Regions from separate parts of the Homo sapiens genome. Here all the other regions are linked to region 1. The links are contacts of gene promoters, found by promoter capture Hi-C in blood cells and fetal thymus (Javierre and others, 2016). All regions are on one chromosome and are shown on one strand. Each heading gives the region's core, a stretch centred on a gene start or on the middle of the fragment in contact. The rest is flanking DNA. Distances are from core to core; before and after follow the strand shown.

The links. The method cuts DNA at HindIII sites, captures the fragments that hold promoters and counts their contacts. A CHiCAGO score of 5 or more calls a contact.
Region 2: a fragment that was not itself captured here is called in contact with the fragment with the promoter of CFAP206 in region 1 in 2 of 17 cell types (total CD8 T cells and fetal thymus); the score reaches 6.3 in total CD8 T cells.
Region 3: a contact is called between a fragment that was not itself captured here and the fragment with the promoter of CFAP206 in region 1, in 2 of 17 cell types (fetal thymus and naive CD8 T cells). The highest score is 6.6, in fetal thymus.

Annotation. Positions count from the first base shown.
Region 1 is chr6:87,406,385-87,409,877 of GRCh38, forward strand. It overlaps CFAP206 (cilia and flagella associated protein 206), which reads left to right and starts at 1,588. Exons shown (of 13, transcript NM_001031743.3): 1 at 1,588-1,705; 2 at 3,451-3,493. The coding sequence starts at 3,456. The HindIII fragment of the contact is 4,290 bases long and covers 846-3,493 here.
Region 2 is chr6:87,708,702-87,712,194 of GRCh38, forward strand. No RefSeq gene overlaps it. Among named protein-coding and RNA genes, the nearest start is that of AKIRIN2, 8.2 kb to the left of the region's middle. RefSeq lists an enhancer at 1,501-1,640. The HindIII fragment of the contact is 672 bases long and covers 1,369-2,040 here.
Region 3 is chr6:87,689,215-87,692,707 of GRCh38, forward strand. All of the region lies in intron 1 of AKIRIN2 (akirin 2), which reads right to left. Among named protein-coding and RNA genes, the nearest start is that of AKIRIN2, 11 kb to the right of the region's middle. The HindIII fragment of the contact is 9,255 bases long and covers 1-3,493 here.

The DNA of each region.
Region 1 (3,493 bases), core at 338-2,837:
TTACACTTACATCTCATTGGCTAGACCATGTCACAGGCCACTCTCACTGAGAAAGAGGTTGAGAGATTTTTTTTTTTAAAAGAGAACACTGTCATTCCCAACACAGGGTTAAATTAGTAACAGAAAGAGAAGAAAACATTGACATTAAGTAGGAATTAACAGTATCAAACATACTTCAGGGAGTATTTGTGCCAGGATTTGCCCATTAGTTTAAAACTATACTTAATATGATGGTATTATTCTTACCATCTTAAAAGATATTTAATATTCTAATATATAATATATGCTCATGGAAGACATTTTGGTAGCTATCTTAAAGTATAAAGAAGACAAATCAGCCATAAGCCATTACAAAGTTACAACCACTGTTAAAATTTTGCTATCTCACCGTCCTTTGGTTGCTTTACCTTGTATACTTACAGTATATTTGTATATCTAAATTGGGTTCATTCTCTACAAATAGCCAGTCTCATCTCCCTTGTATTTTTAAATTTTGTTTTATAGATCATAAGACAATATATACTCATTATGGAAAAATCTAGAAAAAACAGAAAAGTATAAAGAAATAAAAGTAATTTACCTATAATTCCATCCTTAGATCTAATTGCTTGCTGTGATTTTGAAAAACTGACCTACACTTTTTGTGCATTATATGTATGTCAATATAGTTTAAGTCATATTATATAAAAATTTCGCATTTGGCTTTTAACAAATATAAGACAAACACAAGGTTTTTGTTAACATAATTTTAAATACCTGCCTGATATTTTACTTAAATAACGTGTTTAGATTTCTAAGGCTGTGCTATTATAAATCTTGTTACTCTGAACATCTATTTTTACACAAGCTTCTTCCACATTCCGGGAACATTTTCTAGAAGGCGGAAATAAAATTGTGTTATATTATGATGTATATTCTTGAGTTTTTGTGTTGATTCATTTCCTAGTAATCAGGGAATGTCCTTAAGCAAAGCATATTCTGCATATTTGTTTGCAGTTTGAGAAAAATTACTGTTTAAAAATAAAACCTTGTTGTTTGATGCTCTCCTTCTAATGAGTATTTAATCCTTTTTCACACTTTCACGTCTGAAGGTGGGCCTAACGATATTATCGTTAAGGGATAAAACCTCATTATTTTGACTCGGACACTAATGTGTTCTTATCATGTGCTTCTTGAATGAGCAGTTTTCTCTTCGGGCATCTTGGAGCGTTCTGTTACAGACTTCCTTTGAACAACGGGACATGAAATAAAACCTCGATACTTTTTACTTTTGTTTTTTAAAACTAGATACTTTTACAAGAACTCTATTTGCCCAGGATACAGCCCTTCCGTTTTCCCAGCCTCTCCAACTGGCTCCTCCCTCTCCCCCACCCCGCTTTCAAAGCCGCCTCATCATTCCCACGCTAGCAAGTTAATATCCTTATTTACGAGAACTTGTGTTTCACAGTCTTAACCACGGAGGTTAAGATGTCTCTGCCTGAAATTCCTTTGTTTTTAAAGTTTTTCCAGCCCATCTTTTGGGGGAAAGACCCTCAAAGTGGGACCCCGCCCCACCCCCACCTGGCCCCGCCCCCTCTGGTCCGGAGCCTTCCATCTCCATGGTTACGCGGCGGTGGCTGCGAGCGCCCAACTGCTCCGACCGTCGCGGTGAGGGCCCCAGGACAGAAGCAGACAGACACGGCTCCTGCTGTCGATTCCGATCCAGGTCAGCCTACTCGGGGCTCCGCGCCCTTGACCCGGAGGCGTACCCCGCCAGGCGGCGAGCTTGGGGCGGCTGGCGGAGCTCGGGCGGCTGGAGGACCGCGTCCTGCCTCGTCGAGACTTAGCTCTCAGTCTCGATCCTTTAGGCTGCGCCGCCGCAGAGCTGGAACAGCGGTCCATTCCTGCCGGAGGCGCCACCCCAGGGCTGCAGGGCTGCCCTCTAGCCTTTGCGCGGGTGCCTGAGGCCTCCCGCTTCTGTTTCGCTCCACTGGCTACCCCAGAAGCCGGACCTCGGGAGACTTAGTAATTGGAGGGTGGGTGCAGGGAAGGTGCTGAGCCGCGTCCCTAGCGACCCGGCAGCGGCGCGCATGCGCACACAGATCCGGAGCGCGCACACAGATCCGGAGCGCGCACACAGATCCGGAGCGCGCACACAGATCCGGAGCGCGCACACAGATCCGGAGCGCGCACACAGATCCGGAGCGCGCACACAGATCCGGAGCGCGCACACAGATCCGGAGCGCGACGGACTCTCCCACTGACTGGCACTTGCGCATGCGCTGCCTGTGATCTTGGAGTACTGATTATAAGCTGTTTTAAGCGATTCCCTTAAGCCGCGCACTGTTGTAACCACTAAAAACAGGACTAATTTAGTCCTCACACCTCTGGAAAGAAGTGAAGCAAGTGCCCAAGGTCTCACAGCTGGACAGTGGTCGGGTCACCATGGAATCCAGGCAATCTGGTTTCACTGGACAAAATGCCTAGTGCTTCGTACTCATCCATTGGAAAGCTAATAATGCTGAGGAGTTGGCTTTATCTACCTGATATTGCCTTTGTTATACTCTACATGCCAACTTCCATTGTGCTTAGTTACTGATATTCAGGAAAATCAGAAAACTCGATCAAAACCTACCACTTTTTCCTTATAGTAAATGCTTTTTTTTATCGAGAGTCTGAACTCTATTTTAGATGTGCGGAAAAGATCATTTTAATGATCTGAGCAAGAATTGTTTTCCAAGATTCTAGTACAGTTCTGAAGGGTCATTTAATGAATGTGGTGGAATAAGCATTTCTCCTTTTAAAGCTGTACTCTTGGGTTTCTCATTAATTTTACCTCCCTCCCCTACAAATACTGCTTAGCCTTTTTTTTTTTTTCCTGAGACACAGTTTCGCTCTTGTTGCCCAGGCTGGAGTGCAATGGCACCGCAACCTCCGCCTCCCGGGTTCAAACGATTCTCCTGCCTCAGCCTCCCAAGTAGCTGGGATTACAGGCGTGTGCCACCACTCCCGGCTAATTTTGTATTTTTAGTAGAGACGGGGTTTCTCTGAGTTGGTCAGGCTGGTCTCGAACTCCCGACCTCAGGTGATCTGCCTGCCTTGGCCTCCCAAAGTGCTGGGATTACAGGCGTGAGCCATCGCGCCCAGCCTGCTTAGCCTTTTTTTTTTTTTTTAATTAAGAATATCATGATAGGAATATATGTTTAGTGACCATAATTTAAATAATTGAAAATGTTATTTATCAAATGTTTCAATTATTTGAAATCCCAATCGTTGTCTGTCTTCAATAAAGTCCTTCATTTTTAAAAATAATGAAAAACAGGAGAGGCCTAGATACTAATAAAAATGCTAATAAGCTAATAGATGATATTATGACTGTTTACAAATACAATATTGCAGAAATCAAAAGAGGAAAAAAATAAATTTGCATAAAACCACGGTTTTTTTAAAAAAAATTGTTGTTTTATTTAGCCAGAATGCCTCCAACTCAGGCCGAAAGTGTTATAAGGAGTAT
Region 2 (3,493 bases), core at 455-2,954, 300 kb after region 1:
TATTTTATCTGGCAACCCTAAGTAAGGAGCACAAGACAGTGACCATGAATCATCAAGAAAAGCACAAACTATGTTTAGTATGCAGTTCAAAAAATGTGTAACAAACATGATATTAGAAAATATTCTGCCCGGCCATCAGAGAAATGCAAATCAAAACCACAATGAGATACCATCTCACACCAGTTAGAATGGCAATCATTAAAAAGTCAGGAAACAACAGGTGCTGGAGAGGATATGGAGAAATAGGAACACTTTTACACTGTTGGTGGGACTGTAAACTAGTTCAACCATTGTGGAAGACAGTGTGGCGATTCCTCAGGGATCTAGAACTAGAAATACCATTTGACCCAGCCATCCCATTTCTGGGTATATACCCAAAGGATTATAAGTCATGCTGCTATAAAGACACATACACACGTATGTTTATTGCAGCACCATTCACAATAGCAAAGTCTTGGAAGCAAGCCAAATGTCCAACAATGATAGACTGGATTAAGAAAATGTGGCACATATACACCTTGGAATACTATGCAGCCATAAAAAAGGATGAGTTCATGTCCTTTGTAGGGACATGGATGAAGCTGGAAACCATCATTCTTAGCAAACTATCGCAAGGACAAAAAACCAAACACCGTATGTTCTCACTCATAGGTGGGAATTGAACAGTGAGAACACTTGGACACAGGAAGGGGAACATCACACACCGGGGCCTGTTGTGGGGTGGGGGGAGGGTGGAGGGATAGCATTAGGAGATATACCTAATATAAATGACGAGTTAATGGGTGCAGCACACCAACATGGCACATGTATACATATGTAACAAGCCTGCATGTTGTGCACATGTACCCTAAAACTTAAAGTATAATTTTAAAAAATAATAATAATAATAAAAGAAAATATCCTGGCTGGGTGCAGTAGTTCACACCTGTAATCCCAGCACTTTGGGAGGCCGAGGCGGGCAGATCACCTGAGGTCGGGAGTTCGAGACCAGCCTGACGAACATGGAGAAACCCTGTCTCTACTAAAAACACAAAATTAGCCAAGCGTGGTGGCGCATGCCTGTAATCCCAGCTATTCAGGAGGCTGAGGCAGGAGAATCACTTGAACCTGGGAGGCAGAGGTTGTGGTGAGCAGAGATCATGCCATTGCACTCCAGCCTAGGCAACAAGAGCGAAACTCCATCTCAAAAAAAAAAAAAGAAAGAAAAGAAAAAGAAAATATCCCATAGAAGGTATTTAAGATTCAGATAATTTAAAGTTTCAGTTGTTTGGAAAGTTAAATACATGAAATACTTTGGACCATGCATGTTCTATTCACTGCAGAGTGCCAGCTATAAACTAAACAGTAAACATTTGATGAATAATGAAAAGCTTCACACACTATCTCCCCATTGGTGGGGGACCTCAAGCCCCTAAAGGTTGTCTCTAGCCCCGCCTCATCATTTAGTTTTAGAATTCCCTCACACCTTCTACTGCAGCTGTCTGTTCCGTTGTCTTGCTTAAGTCCAAGCCTGACTCAGAATTGGTGTCACTGTCTGTGTCAGGCTCTCGTTCCCTCTTGTGCCTTTTGTCCTGTGGTTCCATGATGCCACCACAAACCTTCTCTGATGAGGCTTTTTGAGAGAATGAGATGATGCCTGCACTTCCCCAATATTTTGGGCTTCCTCTGCAAGCCCATTGTTATAAGGGTTAGCCAGGTGCATGGTGTGAAGGAAATGATAAAAGAGGCTCAACTCTTACCCCAGGAGCAGCTTTCCTAACCCCACCCACTGATAACAAGCATCACCTTGGGACTGATTATTGGTCCCTTGCAGTCCTCAGGGCTTGTGTTAAAGTTAGGGCTTTATAGAGTACTCAAAAAATTGCTAGATTTTATCTGAAACTTGTGTGCCACAGTTTGTTATATATTGTGGCCAGATGAGTACAAGGAATTGTCCCCATCTTGTACTTAAAGGAGACAGTTCACACTCCTGGTATGGTTTGCCTCTGAGTAGTGGGGTCATGGAGTGGGTCCATGGGAATAAGACATTCCTACCTTCAAAGCTTACTTTCTATCTTACAAGCTTGTCTGAAAATTCTTTTTCAAAAGTCCCATTTATCATAATAATTTGGAAAAATAAAATACAATTTTTTTTCTGGAGAAAAAAAGTCATCCCAGTTACCATCAATCTGGAAATTAAAAGCCAGTACATCACACGATACTGTCTAGTGCATAATAAACCCTTAGTTAGCCATGTCTATTATTATCATGCTAAGGAAAACTCCAAAATCTCCCCAAGCCTTTTTGTCTATTAGATTGCCTACAGTCCAGTTACGGCTGCTGAGGTCCAGTTTCTGAGCCAGCTGCCCCCACCACATACACACCCAAGCAGAATGCTGCCAATGACTTTTATTCAATTTTGTCTTCCTCCTGGGTAGTGAGTTTAATTCTCACCTCTGACTGCCTTTCTAGGATGTTCCTTATTATCTTCTATTGTGTTTCAGAGACTTCTTACATGTCTTCGCAAAGAAGAGTGGGAGTTCAGACTCAAAACTGTCAAACTAATATTCCCAACCATTCTCCAGCTGACATTCCAATTCTAATGGAGTCTCAACTTTTAATGTTTTGGTCATGCACAATTGTCAATTTAAAAATTCACAACCCTTCTGAAAGAAAGTCCATGAGTATTCATTGAGAAGAGAATCAGCCAGCCCAATTGAATGTTCTCTGATAAGCATGCAGTACAGGAGTAGTGACTGTCAGGATTATGGCCTAATTTCCAACCTCTAAAACCTACTGTGCCTTTTAGGTTACAACAGAAGATAATAGTGATTGGGTTCATTAAATCTGTGTGTTGGCAGTTTATTTTGGAATATGAAAAGTGACGTGAAAGATGAGATTGGGGTGCACACAAAAATTATTTTGAACACCTAGAGTAGTCTTTCTTGTTTAAACAACCATGTACTGCGAGTCTGCTATGTCTAAGACACTGTTTGACAACACGGAGGCTAGCAAGATGAAGAAGACACTGCCCCTCCCTTACGCTTATAGTCTAGTGGAGGAGAAATGTACACAAATATCACTAGAGAGAGTGCAAAAGAGGGAACTCAGATAACATCTAAAGTTCCCAATCAGTGCAGTTGGGTTTTAGGGTGTGTGTCACTTTAATCCTGCCTAGATAGGTGAGTTACAGCCTAGGTTGGCAATATGTGAGGGGAATATGGCAAAACCTGCAATGACTTTTGCACCAACCTAATAAAAGTTATTGTTTACAGAGGATCCCACCATGGCCCAGGTGTGTTCTCAGCTTATCCTAATAAAAATCCTACATGGTCATAGTGTTAATCCCATTTTACTATTGAATTTGTGGCTCATGCCTAAGGTCACACAGTCTAAAATGGAGCAGAGTAGAGACTATTACTTTCTATCACAGGGGTCATGTCTTAGTTATTAGTTATCTTAGTATCTCTGTGGCCTCACAGAGGGCTTGCCACACACCTGAGGACCGTGGCAT
Region 3 (3,493 bases), core at 722-3,221, 280 kb after region 1:
ACCCGGGCCAGGCGCGGTGGCTCATGTCTATGATCCCAGCACTTTGGGAAGCCGAGGCGGGTGGATCACCTGAGGTCAAGAGTTCGAGACCTGCCTGGCCAACATGGCAAAACCCCATCTCTACTAAAAATACAAAAAAATTAGCCAGGCAAGGTGGTGCATGCCTGTAATCCCAATCGCTTAAACCTCGGAGGCAGAGGTTGCAGTGAGCCGAGACAGTGCTACCGCACTCCAGCCTGGGCAACAGAGTGAGACTCGGTCTCAAACAAAAAAAGCATACCTGGAACCAGGATTTGCAAAACTGATGACTAACAGGCCAAACTCAGCCCCATGGACATGATTTTTTTAAAAACATGTTAATTTGTGGCCATTTAAAAACTGGGTGGTTTTACACATAAAGTCAGACTTCTGACTACTCTTGGGAAAACCAGATAACACAGCAAAACTCAGCTGAAGATTCAAAGTGACTGTTACCTTTTGGGCCTAAGTTCTCAAGTGCTTCTACAATTTTAATGCACACACAGATTACCTCCAGATCTTGTTAAAATGTAGACTCTGAAGGGTGGAGCTTAAGATTCTACGTTCCTTATGAGGTGATGCTGCCGGTCAGGACTGGAATTCACTAGTTCCCTCCTAGTTTACTTTAAATCATTTACACATCTGGAACTATGCGTATTTAAAGTTTCTAGCCCCTGCTTAAAATAACAACTCTCTTGGCCACGGGCGGTGGCTCACGCCTGTAATCCTAGCACTTTGGGAGGCCAAGGCAGTTGGTCACTTGAGGTCAGGAGTTGGAGGCCAGCCTGGCCAACATGGTGAAACCCTGTCTCTACTAAAACTACAAAAAAATTAGCTGAGCATGGTGGCAGGAGCCTGTAATCCCAGCTACTTGGGAGGCTGAGAATCGCTTGAGCTTGGGAGGCAGAGGTTTCAGTGAGCTGAGATGACGCCATTGAACTCCAGCCTGGGCAACAACAGCGAAACTCCATCTCAAAAAAAAAAAAACCAAAAAAACAAAAAAAACCAACTCTTAATTGAACATTTTTTAAAAAGTGGTTTACTATTGGACATACTAAGGAGTGGAGAGGAAGGAAAGCAAGACATTAGCAGCAAGGTTATTACAAGTAGGAAAATACCTAAGCTAACTTAAAATCATTTTGCCACCCTCACCTGAATGGTTTTTGCAGTTGTCAGTTCATTGCTTCTCAGCCTTTTGGCTAAGATCAAGTGTAATTCTAAGTCAGACATACCCCTCCTGTAGGAGGAAAATATTCTGCAAATTAATTTAACTTGATTGGACCTACTTAGGAAAACTCATTACATGACATTAACCTATATACAATGATTATTTCATCTCTCCTTATACACTTTAAAAAAGGAAATTCATATTCGTCATTATGTGACTGATGATGAAGCAATTCATTTACTTTACCAACATGACCACTTATTAAAAAGAGGAATTAAGACCACCTCTCAGGCCAGGCACGGTCACTCATGCCAGTAATCCCAGCACTTTGGGAGGCCAAGGTGGGCAGATGGCTTGAGGTCAGGAGTTCAAGACCAGTCTGGCCAACATGGTAAAACCCTATCTCTACTAAAAATACAAAAGTTAAACGGGCATAATGGCGGGCACCTGTAATCCCAGCTACTAGGGAAGCTGAAGCAGGAGAATCACTTGAATCCAGGAGATGGAGGTTGCAGCGAGCGGAGACTGCACCACTGCACTCCAGCCTGGGCAACAGAGTGAGACGGTTTCAACAACAACAACAAAAAGACCACCTCTCACACCATAAGACACTCATTAGAAGTCTACATACATCTCTTATTTATCCCATGTATTTTGTAAATTAGTTGTGAACATTTAAAAGTCAATCGATTTCACAAAAGTTCTGACTTCTAGTGGTGGAGCGAAGGCTACCAAGATCTGACGATAAAAAGTCCAAATTAGGCTGGGCGTGGTGGCTCACACCTATAATCCCGGCACTCTGGAGGCCAAGGTGGGCAGATCACTTGAGGCTAGGAGTTGGAGACCAGCCTGGCCAACATGGTGAAACTGTCTCTACTAAAAATACAAAAATTAGCCGGGCATGGTGATACACATCTGTAATCCCAGCTACTTGGGTGGCTGAGGCAGGAGAATTGCTTGAACCCAGGAGGCAGAGGTTGCAGTGAGCCGAGATCGCACCACTGCACTCCAGCCTGGGAAACAGGGCAAAACCTCATCTTAAAAAAAAAAAAAAAAAAAAAAAAAGTCCACATTTCCCATGGCTGCAACTAAAGAGGAACTGTCTGAACCAACTGAAGATACAAATTAAAGAGACATCTGTAAATGGAAACTGAAGTCAGGAGCAGGCATGTGACTGCTTAGGGAGCTATTAAGTGACATAAGCATGGAGCTAAAGCTAGAACTAAAGAACTGCAAGGTTTAATGCCCAGGTAAAGAGAAGAACAGCTAGGGAGTAGAGGGAAATTGTAGTCAAAGGAGAAAAAGGCCATTTCAAAAAGAAAGGAGTGTGCCAGCAGGCAGAATGCTGAAAGAAAGGTCAAATAAGAGGAGGACTGATTGAGTGTCATGGAAGTCACTGATGACCTGACAGGAGCTGCTTGAGGCATGTCAGGAATTAAGAACTGAAGAAATGGAAGCAAACAGACTATTTGAAAGCTCTCTGAATTTGATTTTGAAGTGGAGGAAATCTGGAAGATAGCTGGAGGAAAATGAGTATGTTTTGTTCTTTTACTTTCTCATGGAAGGCTTGTGAATATATAAAGCCAAAAGCAAAGATCCAATTGAGAGAAGAAATGGAATAATCAAGAGGATAAAGTTACTTTGGAGAAAAGTGGAATCTTTCCCTCACTATATACAGTGCTTTAATAATTGTTTAATCCTCGATGATACTAGAACAGGACAGGCTCAAATGTCAGTAGTGCTGGTACTAAAAACAATGAAAAAACTGTGATTTGATGGCAACTCTTTTGTAGAAGGCAGGCTTAGTCACTGAAAGGCAAACTTGCTGGTGAGTAAAAGTCCCATTTGAGGTTGCCTTCTTGAGACCATTTCCATCACTTGGCCAGTAAATGCTCTTAATTCTCACAACCCTAAGAGGCATATGCTACTATCATCATGTGCACATTTCCTGAGATGAGAAAAATGAGGCTCTGCTTCAGTGTCTTCTGCAATGTCACACGGCTTGAACATGGCAGAGCCAGGTTTGACCTCAGGGCCCAAGTTCTTAACATCTACTACCCTCTCCAGTAGTACATTACTACACTTAATCAAAATTCTATTAGCATTTAATGTTAAAATAAATCACAATGGGCTGGGCGCGGTGGCTCATGCCTGTAATCCCAGCACTTTGGGAGACAGAGGTGGGCAGATCACCTGAGGTCAGGAGTTCAAGACCAGCTTGGCCAACATGGCAAAACCCTGTCTCTACTAAAAATACAAAAATTAGCTGGGTGTGGCGGCGCACGCCTGTAATCCCCGCTACTCAGA